2 separate regions of the Homo sapiens genome follow, and region 1 is linked to region 2. Evidence: promoter capture Hi-C in 16 types of primary human blood cells and fetal thymus (Javierre and others, 2016). All regions are on one chromosome and are shown on one strand. The core of a region is centred on a gene start or on the middle of the fragment in contact, and the rest is flanking DNA. Distances in the headings are between cores, read along the strand shown. Region 1 overlaps ANGPTL5 (angiopoietin like 5). Region 2 holds the start of MSANTD4 (Myb/SANT DNA binding domain containing 4 with coiled-coils).

Region 1 (6,840 bases), core at 4,137-6,636, 4.1 Mb before region 2:
AAATAAAGATTTCCAGATCTCCACTGAAGACCTACTTATTTTAAATAATCTGGCATATGAAAAGAGGGTGATTTAAGTTATATTTTGATATTTGCAAGCATTTGCTATTTTTACTACAGATCTGACCAATAGAGGCTCTATAGATATAATATCAAAAAGAGTAAACAATGTAGAGTAGAAATACAAAAAAATTAACCTAGAAGATCTCCAAATCCATCCAGATAATCACACCACAACCTCTGGAAATCAATTATCCCATCAATTCTTTTCTGTATCACAGTCCGTCCACCTCCTCTGTAATCCATGTCACACATTACCTAAAATAAGCACAGAGAAGACCAAAATAATACACTATTATTTTCATTATTTGATAATATAACACTCATGCTTCATCCTTAGGCTTAGAAAAAGAGACGGTACTGCCACTGAGTTTTCAATGCAATCATATGCCATTAATTTATTCAGATGTTTTTTATATTTCTAGAAATAATACTGTTTATTATAAAGCAAACCTGTAATTAACCTAAATAATACTGTTTATTATCAAACAAATTTGTAATTAACTTAATCACAGTCCTTATAACAATCATTTTTAAAAATATGTATTTGCAGCTTTTTTTTCCCCCCTTTTTTTTTGAGACAGAATCTCCCTCTGTCGCCCAGGCTGGAGTGCAGTGGCGCGATCCCGGCTCACTGCAAGCTCCGCCTCCCGGGTTCACGCCATTCTCCCGCCTCAGCCTCCCGAGTAGCTGGGACTACAGGCGCCCGCTAGCACCCCCGGCTTTTTTTTTTTTTTTTTTTTTCTTTTGTATTTTTGTATGTTTTAGTAGAGACGGGGTTTCGCTGTGTTAGCCAGGATGGTCTCGATCTCCTGACCTCGTGATCCTCCCGCCTCCGCCTCCCAGAGTGCTGAGATTACAGGCGTGAGCCACCGCGCCTGGCCGTATTTGCAGCATTTTAAAGTTATCCTCTTATTACTCAACTTTATAAATATTCTTCAGTTTGTATAACAGTATTGCTCTGATGTGGCAGAGCAATGTATTTCTCTATAAACTAAATTTTGAATTAAAACACTGGGGGTGGGGGGGTGTGTGTGCACGGCTAAATATTTCACGTGCTTGTCTTTGCTCTTTTCTCCCACAAACCTGGAAGGCCTGTTTTCAGACTGGCATTTTCAGAGAAAGGCATGATCTGTGCCCACTCAGCAGGTGCTCATAGACACATCTGTTGATGCTGTGTAAAATGCCCCTAAAAGGACCTCTGTAGGGCACCCATAGAAGCGATATAGGGAAGAAATCAGAGCAAAATTCTCCCTCAGAAACTTCCCGCATAGAGACAGAGAAAAGGCAGTGTGGAGGAAGTTAAGGAACCAGCACTTTCCCACAAAAGAGGTGATTATGCATCCCACTCTTCATAAAATTAGAAGCCTTCCTTTTCCACATCTGTTCAGATCCAGTTTTGAATCTGTAGGTGAAGTAACTTAGGTAATTTTAAAATTATTTCCCACCTAATTTCCAATTTTTTGACATCTTGTCAATAGATTCCAAATAAAATAATGGTAGTAACTCTAAGAAGAGAAACCGGTAGTATTTACTTAGAAAAAAAGTGACTTTATTATCCAATAAAGACTATCAATAAGGTATAAGTATCATAAACTTTCTTCTGCACAAAGAAGTGCCCAGGAAAATATATATATAATATATATAACTGTATGTGTGTGTGCGTGTGTATATATACACACACACATATATATTCCATCAATATGCATAGTCTCTAGTAGAAATTTCTACTAGATATCCTTGCAGAGAACTACTAAGAATAGACATAAGAGTAATTTATTTTATCAATTTCAGAATGAATCAGCTTTTCAGTCTGCCTTGTACCCCACTGAAAGGTTTTTTAATTATTAATTTCTCATACAATCACATAAAATCATCTATCATCAGAAGAAATTATAACCATATACAGGAAGGGAAGTCAAAAGTATTTTTAGTAAGCTCCAAGGCAAAGCACACCATTATTTTCCAATATCCACAGGCTAATTAAAGCAAGCAAGTATTTATATTGCATAGTTCTGCCTGCTATAGTTCTGCCTGTTACGAGGATAATACAAGCTTTTGCATCACATGGATTTACTTTAAAGAGTATAACCATGGAAACTCAAATAGAAAAGTGAAAGACAGACTCTAGCTCTTTTATTAATTCATGTTTTGGGCATTAGAATTCTAAAAAACCAAAATTTTGAAAGTAGAACTTTACCTAATTTATTTAAAATTTTTTGAGGAAAAATTAAATATTAAAACAATTTAAATTTTAACATAAATTAAATTGGTTGGATGTTTATCTTAGCCCACATAATACGGGAAAACTTCAAATACGGGAAATACCTCAAATGGGTAGCTAGATCCTTCTGGGTGAATTATGTATAAACCACTCGGTGTTTTGGTGACAGAGCCAATGGTATCCTTAATATCAGTGCAATCTAAACCTAGAAAAGCAAAATTATTTAATTGGGATATTTTCAAATGTACATTTAAGGCAATCATTTTACTATAGAGAATTGATAGTGCTATTATCATAATTTTCATTATTATATTATTTTAACTTCTTCAAAATGAAAAATGGTCACAATTTTAGAAATAAAAAGAAAATATAAGGGATTAAAGAATTTATGCTGCAATAAGCCTTCACTTATAATGTCACTGTTAGTGATTAGTTTCCTATACTATTTAAAAGTTTCATTTGGGATCAACACTTATTAAACATATTTTATAATTACACATTCTCTTTACCAATAAATAATGCCATTTCAGAAATTTAGGTTTATCTTAGAGAATGTAATGTGTAAAGGAAATCTACATGAATAGGGAGGAGAAAACCAAAAGGAATAAGTAGATTAACCACTACAGACACATATTTCACTATTCTATTCCCAACTTCAGAGACTGATGTGTTTGGGACCACTAATACAAGTAGCCAAAGGAAGAAAGGGGAAAATCACTTTCTTCCCCAAGAAATTATGCCTGATGTTAGAGCCTACTCTGTTAACAACAGTTAGAATTATAGCACCCCATAATCACCTTCTCCAAAGCACTCATCTCCCCAGGATTGTAAACACGTGTATGTGGATATGGATATTACATTTTCTGGAAGATACTCTACTCTGTAGCATCTTTTATAAGTGAAATAAATTCAACCCTTAGAGCGTCCATTATCCAAATGCCCATCTTAACATCCTAGTTCTACTCCTAACACTTTACTTCATAGTGTTATCCTAACTATTTACGTAGTAAGGTATTACATAAAGCCTTTACCATAGTGCCCAGCACACCCAAATAATGAAGAAAATGCCATCTACAAAAAGTTAGCTATAAAAAGTCACTTGTTTTCCCCTTCGTCTCTGGGAGACATAGATTTGTTGTTGCCTGTATCCTTAATTGTTAAGAGATATTCTTATAATGACTTTATGCTCAGAGACATGAAAGAAGTTCACGCTGAAGGACCGATCTGGGTTGGAGTGTCTGCTATGTCATTACCTTTCAAATTAATGTGAACAGATTATTTCGATTTTTCTGGGCTGGATATTTCTTATCTGATGATGATGATCATAGCAAGCAAGCCCTTATATTGTTCTGCCTGTGATTCGGGCATTTTTTTTATTTCCTTGTGATAAACATTTGATTCGGGCAATATTTTAAGAGACTTTCCTGTATTTATTCACTTAATCCTCACATCAACTGTAAGAGGTAGGTACTATCAGTTTACTGATGAGAAAACATATCAAGAGAGCAGCAAGCAAGAAATTTGAAACCAAGGAGTCTGACATCAGAGTCCATGCTCCTGACTACCACATTATGCCTGCTTTGGGGCAGTTATGAGATATAATAAAATAATTTTAATAACAAAATAATGTGAGAAAGTGCCTGTCTTCCTACCTATCACATAGAAGATTTTTAGGCACTGTTTATTGTCTTCTTTTTCGAAGAAGGACATAAAGATCATGTTCTAGGCCCTCAATAATATTTATTTGCTTTAAACATTTGGGGATAAATTCATATTTATAAGATTTATAGGGTATTTTTCTTAGAAGTCCAAACCTCTAGGAATTAATATGCTGTATTTTAGTATAAAAAGTGCTAACTTTCAGTTTATTCTTGTCTTACATTTCTTTTTCTTTTCAAATTTTATGCCCCAATTTGAAACATTTCAAACATGTCAAAAACATTTTTTACAGGTGGGAGGAACTTTGAAACTTTCTTTTCTTCTATCTGAAGATGAATTATTAATAAGATATAAACTGGGAGTCCAGAACAAAGCTATAGAAAGCTATGTTATTTTCAACAGCTTCAGGATATCTTTATACAGCCATGGCTTTCACATGGTTGAAAAAGTTTCCCATTTTAAGAAAGTACACGTTGTCTATGGTGAAATTTGCTTAATAGCAGGTATTAGCCCTCCAGTCTGTTAGAGAACGGTGAGCTGTAGTTTTTAAATAAAACTTTTAAATGGATCGACCTGTCCAGGAAAATTTTAAGCAATAAAAGACAAACATGAAAAGGCTGAAATACCAAAGTTCTCACCATGTGACTGAACAGGTCTGTGAGGAAAAGGATCCAGCTGTTTTCTAAAAACTTCTGTAGTCAAAAGGAGAACTCTATTCATGAGCTCGTTAACCTAAACACATGCATACACATTTAAGTAAATTTATATTTGAAGAAATTGCCATCTCTAAGCCTCTCATAAACCCAGCTCTGAAATACGTAATGGTGCCCATTTTTCTAGATTGATTTCTTACTGCTTTAACAAAGAATAAAGGCAAAGCTAAATAGCAATCATTAAATTTCGTAGTATCTACCTCCTTAACGTTGATTTTATCTGCCCCGATTTCTGCATTTGGCTGCTCTTGCACATCTGCCCTTCATACCTTGTCCAAACCATTGCTGTAGTTTCTTACCTCCTCCTTTGGCTCTTCCTCAAGTCATTGGCCACACAAGTTAATCAGATTGTGGCATTTCCTTGCTTAAACACTACAGTGGCTCCTTGGTGTGGTATGACTTCGTTCTTGCCTATTCCTATAGTCAGTTTTCCTTAAATACTCAACCTCACCAGCCACTCCACCCTGTACCAACACCAAGAAGTTTCCCCAGAATGGAATGTCCTCTTCGCCTTACCCAACCTTTATGATTTTTAAAACATTTATTCATCCTTCATGACTGTTAACAGACTTTCTCCTCTGGGAAGCTTTTTGTATCTGAGAGTTCTCTTTTGTGCCATTCTAGCAACCACATTTTTGTCAACACATTTTAATGCTCCACTAGACCATACCCCTTGAATTAAGTTCGATTTTTTTACTGCTTTTTGTTTGCCTAAAGTTTACTATGGTGCCTCTAACATGGTAGGCGCTAAATAGATGTCTGAACATGAATGCATTTTAAAAAAAGATTATACCTCCAGCTAACTATACATCAACGTGTACATGCAATAACAACACAATACTAAAACATCTATACCTGATTAGATAAATAATCCAAGGAAGCTTGTTGCTCATCCATCATATTCCTTAGTAGTTTTTTGGTACTTCTTGTGTAGGAAACAATAGAATTTTGCAAATTTCCTTAACCATAATAAAAAGTGGCTGTTAAATATTATATTGTTACAGAAAACAATTACAGTGAAAAATAGTGAATTTTACCTGATTTTGGATATGTATGTTAACTCAATACTATCTCAATTTATCTTAATACTCAGAATTACATATTTTAGTTAGTATATCTTTTGTTTAACTCAGGATTAACCCCAGAAATGATTGTCTCAATACTTCTTAATGAAACTATGCTTCCTACTAATATAGATTACCCAGAATAATTAATCTGTTATCATTAAGAGACAGTGTTCTGATTATAAATTCTCACTTTATAAGATGAGATATATAGAGGCAGGAGTTATAGGATTCATCAATTCTTACTGTAAAAGAAAGTTAGTGGTGACAGTTTTATACCAGGCAAGTTAATTTTAAAAAGTACATCTTTGTTTTAATTTTTCTATTAATACTATATTTACACAATTAAATTGCTAGCACATACATATACATACACATAATAAATGTTAGTCAAAGGTTTTGGTTATTTGGTTTCTGACTAAACATTTACTATACATTTTCCTTTTAAAAATGTTTTTATCTTAAGAGAAAATTTCTTATAGCGAAGTTGCGATAACAGTACAAATAACTTTTTCCTAATGCCTTTGAGACCATGTTGCCATGATGTACCGTCATGCTATTTCAGTGTATATTTCTTACACCAAAGACATTTCTAATAACATACCACCAAAATTAGGAAATAAACATTCACTACCTATATTTCTCAGACCCTATGTGAGTTTTACCCAAGATAGTAATAATGTTGCCCCCTATAACAAAAGGGCCCACACACTATTACGTATGTTATTCTTTAAAATTTTATTTTCTAACTTTCTTTCCACCAGCAGTAGAATCACATTAAAAAATCTTGATATTTTTAATTCTACCTCACTCTGCTTCCTCTCTCTTTCTTATTTTCAGTCTGTCACTTTCTATTAGCTTTTTCCTGAATTTAGCCATCTGTCTTAATAGGTCTAAAGCTGCACTCATTGGTTTGAGAAGCCTGAGACCCTTTTGTTGCACACAGAATTAGCTACATAGAGAAAGGATCCATTCATTTACCAAATATTTATTAAGCACCTATTATGGGCCAAACAATAAAGCTTCTGGCCTAGGATGATCAGGATGTATAGAAAATGACCCAGACAAAAGCTAAAGTATACTTTTCAGTGTCTACCCTAAAAATAATGAATCATATACTC
Region 2 (6,937 bases), core at 1,149-3,648:
ACCTAAGGCTGTATGCCAATTCCACCACTTAACTAGCTCTGTGATCTCCAGCGAATTACTTAACCTCTTAAACTTGTTTCTTCATCTATAAATGGGAATAATAGACTAATACTCGTGATGTTTTGAAGATTAAAAGAGATAAACCGATTAAGAAGTTTATCATGCCTAAGACATAGTAAGCCCACAAATGTCAGCTATTATCCATTGCCCAGTACAGTATCTGAATGTAATTAACAAATATTTCTTCACTGGATGAATAATGCAAATATACAAAAACTACAATAAAGAAATACTAACAAAATACTCTGGATATTCATAAGAAAGACAAATCTTTGATGGGATCAAGGAATGTTTTGAGTCAGAATCAGCATTTGATTTGGGTCTTATAAAACAGACTAATGAGGGACAGAAATAAAAGAAAGAAGTATCAGGAATTAAAGCTGGAAAATTAGGATAGTGCCAAGCAGCAAATCTTACTAAGCGAATTCTGGCTTAATAAGACTATTATTTGCTAAAAATGAACTGAAAGAGACAAATATAACTGTGAAAGTTTTTTGAAATTCAAGCAGGCTACCATTAATATGGAAGAACTGTTACTGTAGTAACATATAAATATATAACCAATATAAGTATATAATAAAAATGATTGAAGTTGTCGAGAGTCCAAATTTATGCAGATATCCACCGTAAGATTTTGCTCTTAGAATCTGAGATCAATTTAGAAATCGCATTGTTGTAAATGTATTGGTACATGGTAGAAATAGCAGTCCTTTTGAAGTACCACTGAGTCAATATATTTTTAAAGTTTGACAGCAGCTGTTGCTATTTGCAGGGCCTATTTTTGACCAACAATTCCTAACTCCATATCTCTAACTTACAAAGTGGTATCCCGTTGTCCTGACTGATCTATTCTGAACTGATGAACTATTTCATTTAATCAAATGGGCTTTAATACATTTTTAACCTGACTGAAATTGATATTGGGATGCACCTTAGATACCCAGTCTTGGCTTAATTGTGTGAAAATCTTCTTCTAAAACCTTGATATTTTCTGATTAAGTGCAAGAAAGTGCCAGCATTGATGCATCTTGAGTTGTTGAAGTTCTGTAGATATGCTTACCTGGATAAAAGCCATTTCCAGAAATGTTTGTCTTCCTGTCCTCTCCTTTATATGCCGGTATCCAAGTAACAGAAGCTTGGGTTTTCTACCATCCATTCATTCCCCAATAATTTCCTCAAAAAATACTTACTGAGCTCCTACTGTGTGAAAGGCACTATTTTTGGTGCTGGGGATATAACACCTCATAAAATGTGAAAATATGTCATTTTAGATGTCAAACACTATCCCTTTTCTATTGCCTGTCATCGCTCTCTTAGCAGAAAGGATTCAACAGCTGCAGTCTCTAAAACTTACAAACCTTCTATGCCCAATCACAGAGAACAGCCATTTTCTAAAATCCCATTTCACAATCGTTCTTCACTAGTTGGAAACAGGAATGAGATGTAGTTCACTTACGTAATCCTTGTGAAGATGATGTACTGCCAATGGCATAATATAACCAGGCAACTTTTTACAAGCACTAAAACTTGAGAATGAAGTTCCTAGATACTTCATGATAAGTCAGAATTAAGAAGTCTGAGAAAAACCAGACGGCAAGTTCCGGATCAAAAAAATTTGAGGGTAAATTAGTTAAGCAGTTCAAGAAGAAAAGCATCACAAATCTACAATATCAAACCCTACCCAAATTCTCTTTAAAGTGTGGCTTTCCCCTCCCCTATATTCTTATAGGGGATTCACTTCCCTGCCAAAAAGTATGTTCTTCTCTAAAACTCGTGGTAGGTGCATAACAAGTATACTTATGGGTCGACGGTTATCAAAGTATCTTTCACCTCCCTCCCGCTGCCTCCTTTGGGACCGTCCAAAAAGAGCCCCTGGGAAGAATCGAGTTAGACTGGGCTCCCGGAAGGCCACCCAGGGGAGCAGGGGCGCGCACCTGCCTCGGCCACAATGATGAGGTTGCTGCTGGTAGGAGTCCCGGTGGGAGTCGGGGCAACCTGGAAGATCTCCTCTCTCTGGGTATTAAATGAGAGTCCCGACTGAGTGCCCAGAAACTTCTGCAGTCTTGTTTCCGTGGCCTGGGCCCTCCCCAGCCTCCCCGGTCAGGCGACAGACGCGCGTGGCACTTCTCCCGAGCGTGCAGTCCCGCTACGTCGCAGCCCTTGGACCAAACCCGGCAGCAAGCGTTGCGCCAATTGCCGCTGACCCCTCCGGGACCCTACCCACTGCGAGGGCACCCACTGGTCACGGAGCCGCCGCTTCCCTGGCCGCCTCCTCCAGCATAGAACCGCTCACCTGCGACCCCGGCGGCACCTCCCCACGGTCGCCCCAAGGGGGGTAGGAAAAAAGATGCTTCATTGATCCCCCGCCCACTAACTGGGCCCGCCCATCTCCCGCCACCCCAATGGCTCATATGGCTGCCGCTCATTTGATGAGTCTCATCCATTGGTTAGAATGGTGTAGCCATTCTGGCTGAGAGCCCGCCCTAGGCCTGGCCTCACAATGGGAATCAAGTCCCAAACCGGTTCCGGGTTAGTGCCCTGGAATTCCGCCCCCTCGTGATTCACCTCCCTGTCTGTGCCCCGTCTGTGGCGCGCAGCTCTGTCAGTCAAGTGGACTCTAGGAAGGGATTGGCCCCTAGAGATCCGCTTGCTGCGCTGTTCCAACTGATTGGGGCACTGGCCGCTGCATCTCCAAACTCGTCTCTTGTCCTTGACCCTCACCTGTTAAAAGGGCAAAGAAGAAGTAGGAAACTTGTGCTGCTCCAGTCGGGTTCTTAGGCCAGCATCACCTTCTCCTCGACCAGCTGCGACCTAATTGGCCTCAGCCATTCCTCTAAGGCTGCCCGTGCCAAAGGTCGCTGGTGACTTCCTTATGGCTAAATCTAGGAGTCACTTCTTAGTCCTTATCATACTATATACTTCCCAGAAGACATTTGAATTTTTTTTTTTTTTTTTTTTTTTTTTTACCATTCTTCACTGTTTCCCCAAATATGTGCTTCTGCTTTCTTCTCTCCCAGTCCTCCTCTATATTCAAGTTTGCAGTTGCTTATTTTCTGCCGTCTCACGTTCAGGTGTTTGTGATTAGTGCACCTTTCTTCCCGCTGCCTCTGTCCAGGCCTCTGTGGACTCACCTGAATTCCATCAGTAGCCTCCTAGCTGGTCTCCCAACATCCTGTCTGCCGGACTGTAGTTCATTCTTCACGTTGTAGCCAAAATGAGCTGCTTAAAGTTTTTTAGTGGAATCTCACCACTGGTGATACAGTACAAACTCCTTATCGAACCTGAAAAATAAGGCACCTACTTTTCCCTCAACCTTCATCTCTCGACATTATACCCACATTTCTTCTTCCTTACCCCATTCCCTTTGCTTCTTTCAGTTCCTGAACTCTACAGTGGCTACTGGGAAGTCAGTTTGCATTGCTGTGTTTCCTCCCTGCTTCTCCGCTATGCCTAGCATTCATTTTTAGAAATTCCTTTCTAAAGGAAGGCTTCCAAAATTATCTCCATTCACCCTCCCTCCACTTCCAAGTATTCCCTTCCCTGTAGGTTTGCCAGATAAAAACAGGACGCTCAGTTAAATTTGAAGTTCAGATAAAAAGCAAATAATTTTTAATCTGTCCAATGGAATATTTGGTATCCATATGTTTATTTGCTAAATTTAAAAAAATAAAAATTTTTGTTTACTAAATCTGCAAGCCTACTTCAGCGAGCTCTCATCACGGCCTTTCCTCTGACAGCACTTCCCACATATTTTATGTGGGTGGGGCTTTTCTTGTTTACTGTTGTGAATAACACAGTGCCTAGAATGTAACAGACAAAAAAGATTTGGTAAATAAATGGTGGAATATTCTGGAGGAATGGTGCATCCTTGCTGGATATTCTTGGAGGAACTCTCCCATAAAATAGGAAGTAATTATGAAATATGCTCTTTAAAATGTAATGATCAGATTGATCTTACAGATTGTTACTTATGACTTTGTCAGTAAGTATAGACATGTTTGTCAAAGAAGCATGTCTATACTTTTGCCAAAGTAGATCAAAAGAAACTTGTAATTTTTGGAAAAATACAAGTTGTATTTTATAATTTTGGATTTTGTTCATGGTGGGTGGTGTTTTTTTGATGAGTGCAGTGAGAAAGTAAGATAACTAGCTATCCCCATCATAACCAGACACTATCAGTTCTGTTCAGAACCTGTCCACCACTTGACTCTGTTTATTTACCTCAGTAATGGGGACAAGAATGGTGAATCAGTATTAACAAACTTTTGCTTTCGTATCATGAACTCTAAGCTTTCCCCAATTAACCTCAGTCTCTTTGCTAATTGAAGTATCTTTTCCAAATACCCTCACTATTTCCTCTCAGCTACATCTTGTCTGAGTGGATATGGACCAACAATGAAGAATTTGAAGGTAATCCATAATGTGTACTATCAGTACTCCATGATCAACCTGTTTGCTGATTTAATTTTTCTTAAGTCCAGGCTAGAGATTTGACCCAAAGATACTTACACACTTACTTTACAACTGTGCTGTCCAACTGTGATAGCCAGATGAGTCATTGGAATGTGGCTAGTACAACCAAATAACTGAATTTTAATTTTATTAATTTTAATTAACTTTAATTTAAAAACTGATATTTGATTCAAGTTACTAGATACTTCTATTTGGAAAATTTGGGTTATGTGTATACTTTTTCAATTGTAAACTTTTTGAAATCTAAATATAGATCAAGTATTTCTGATTTAAAAATAGTGTCTGAATTGAGATGTGCTGTAAGTGTAAAATATATGCAGGATTCCAAGATTTAGCATGAAAAAAATAAATATCTCACTAATAATTTTTGTGTTGACTATAAGTTGAAATTATAATTTTTGCATAATTAGGTTAAGAAAAATATATTATTAAAATTAATTTTACCTGTTTTTAAATTGTTTCCAGCTTTATTGAGGTATGATTGACAAATAAAAATTATATATATTCATGATGATTTGATATACATATACATTGTGAAATGATTACCACAATCAATACATCCATCACCACACATAGTTACCATTATTTGGTGGGGGGGGGTGGGGGGGGGAGGTGAGGGCACTTAAGATGCACTTTCTTAGAAAATTTCAAGTAAACAATATAATATTAACTATAGTCACCATGCTTTATGACAGATTCCCATAACTTACTCATTTTATAACTGGAGGTTTCTTCACAACCCCCAGCCCTGGCAGTACCATTCTGCCCTCTACTTCTTTGAGTTCTACTTTTTTTTTTTTTCCTTTTAGAGACAGAGTCTCACTCTGTTGTCCAGGCTGAAGTGCAATGGAATGGTCATACCTCACTGCAGCTTAGAACTCCTCGGCAAACGTGATCTTCCCACCTTGCTAGGACCCCAGGCATCGCTGCCACATCTGGCAATTTTTTTTTTTTTTTTTTGGTTGAGACAGGGTCTCACTGTGTTGCCTAGGCTGACTAGAACTTCCAGCCTCAAGCAGTCCTTCCACCTCAGCCTTGCAAAGTGCTTACAGGTGTGAGCCACTGCATCTGAGTAGAATTCAAGTTTTTGTGATTCCACATATAGGTGAGATCATACAGTATTTGTCTTTCTGTGTGTGGCTTATTTCACTTAGTATAACGTCCTCTTGATGCAAATGGCAGAATTTCCTTCATTTTTACGGCTGAATAATATTCCATTGTGCATATGTATATGTATATGTATATGTATATACATATACACACCACAGGTTCTTTATGAACTCATCCATAGATGGACACTTAGGTTATTTCCATATCTTGGCTATTATGAGTAATACTGCAATAAACATGGAAGTGTAGATATGTCTTTGACATACTAATTTCATTTCCTTATTAATATATACCCAATAGTGGGGTTGCTGAATTGCTGAATTGTATGGTTGCTCTATTTTTAATTTTTTGAGGAACCTCCATACTTGTTTTCATAATAGTTGTACCAATTTCTATTCCCACCAACAGTGTACAAGGGTTTTCCTTTTCCCATGTCCTCACCAACACTTGTTGTCTTTTTAAAAACTAATAGCCATTCTGACAGCTATGAGGTGACGAGTCATTGTGGGTTTGATTTGTATTTCCTTGATGGTTAATGATGTTGATCATCTTTTCATATACTTATGGGCCATTTGTATGTCTATTTTGGAGAAGTGTCTATTTAGATTTTTTTGTCCATTTTTCAATCAGGTTATTTGTTTTTTTGCTATTGAGTTATATGAATTCCTTATATATTTTGGATATTAATCTCTTACCAGATATATGGTTTACAACTATTTTTATTCCATAGGTGCTTTTCCATTTGTTTCCTTTGCTGTACAGAAGGCTTTAAGTTTGTTGTAGTACCACTTATTTTTGCTTTTCTTTGTGCTTCAGTGTCTTATCCAAAAAATCATTGCCAAGACCAATGTCAAGGAGATTTTCCCCTATGGTTTCATTTAGGAGTTTTAGAGTGTCAAGTCTTGTATTTACATCTTTAATCCATTTCAAGTTAATTATTGTATGTGGTATAAGATGAGGGTCCAATTTTATTCTTTTCTATGTGGATATCCATATACAAAAGTTTTCCAACACCATTTATTGAAGAGACTATCGTTTTCACATTGCATATTGTATATATTCATTGACACCTATATCAAAGATTAGTTGACTGTATGTGAGTGGATTTATTTCTGGCTTCTCCATTCTGTTCCATTGGTATGTGTGTATGGTTTTATGCTAGTACCATACTATTTTGATACTGTAGCATTGTAATACAGTTTGAAATGAGGAAGTGTGATACCTCCAACTTTGTTCTTTTTTCTGAATATTTCTTTGGCTACTTGTGTTTTTTTATTTTTTTTAATGAGGCTAA

What was found. Contacts are between HindIII fragments. The CHiCAGO score rates a contact against its expected background, and 5 or more counts as called.
Region 1: a fragment that was not itself captured here is called in contact with the fragment with the promoter of MSANTD4 in region 2 in 1 of 17 cell types (naive CD8 T cells); the score reaches 5.1 in naive CD8 T cells.

What each region holds. Positions count from the first base shown.
Region 1 is chr11:101,900,234-101,907,073 of GRCh38, forward strand. It overlaps ANGPTL5 (angiopoietin like 5), which reads right to left. Exons shown (of 9, transcript NM_178127.5): 4 at 5,511-5,614; 5 at 4,581-4,674; 6 at 2,388-2,488; 7 at 197-317. Among named protein-coding and RNA genes, the nearest start is that of CEP126, 11 kb to the right of the region's middle. The HindIII fragment of the contact is 295 bases long and covers 5,240-5,534 here.
Region 2 is chr11:106,019,842-106,026,778 of GRCh38, forward strand. It overlaps MSANTD4 (Myb/SANT DNA binding domain containing 4 with coiled-coils), which reads right to left and starts at 2,399. Exons shown (of 3, transcript NM_032424.3): 1 at 1,121-2,399. RefSeq lists enhancers at 1,921-2,040, 2,871-2,940 and a silencer at 2,371-2,480. The HindIII fragment of the contact is 3,155 bases long and covers 1,194-4,348 here.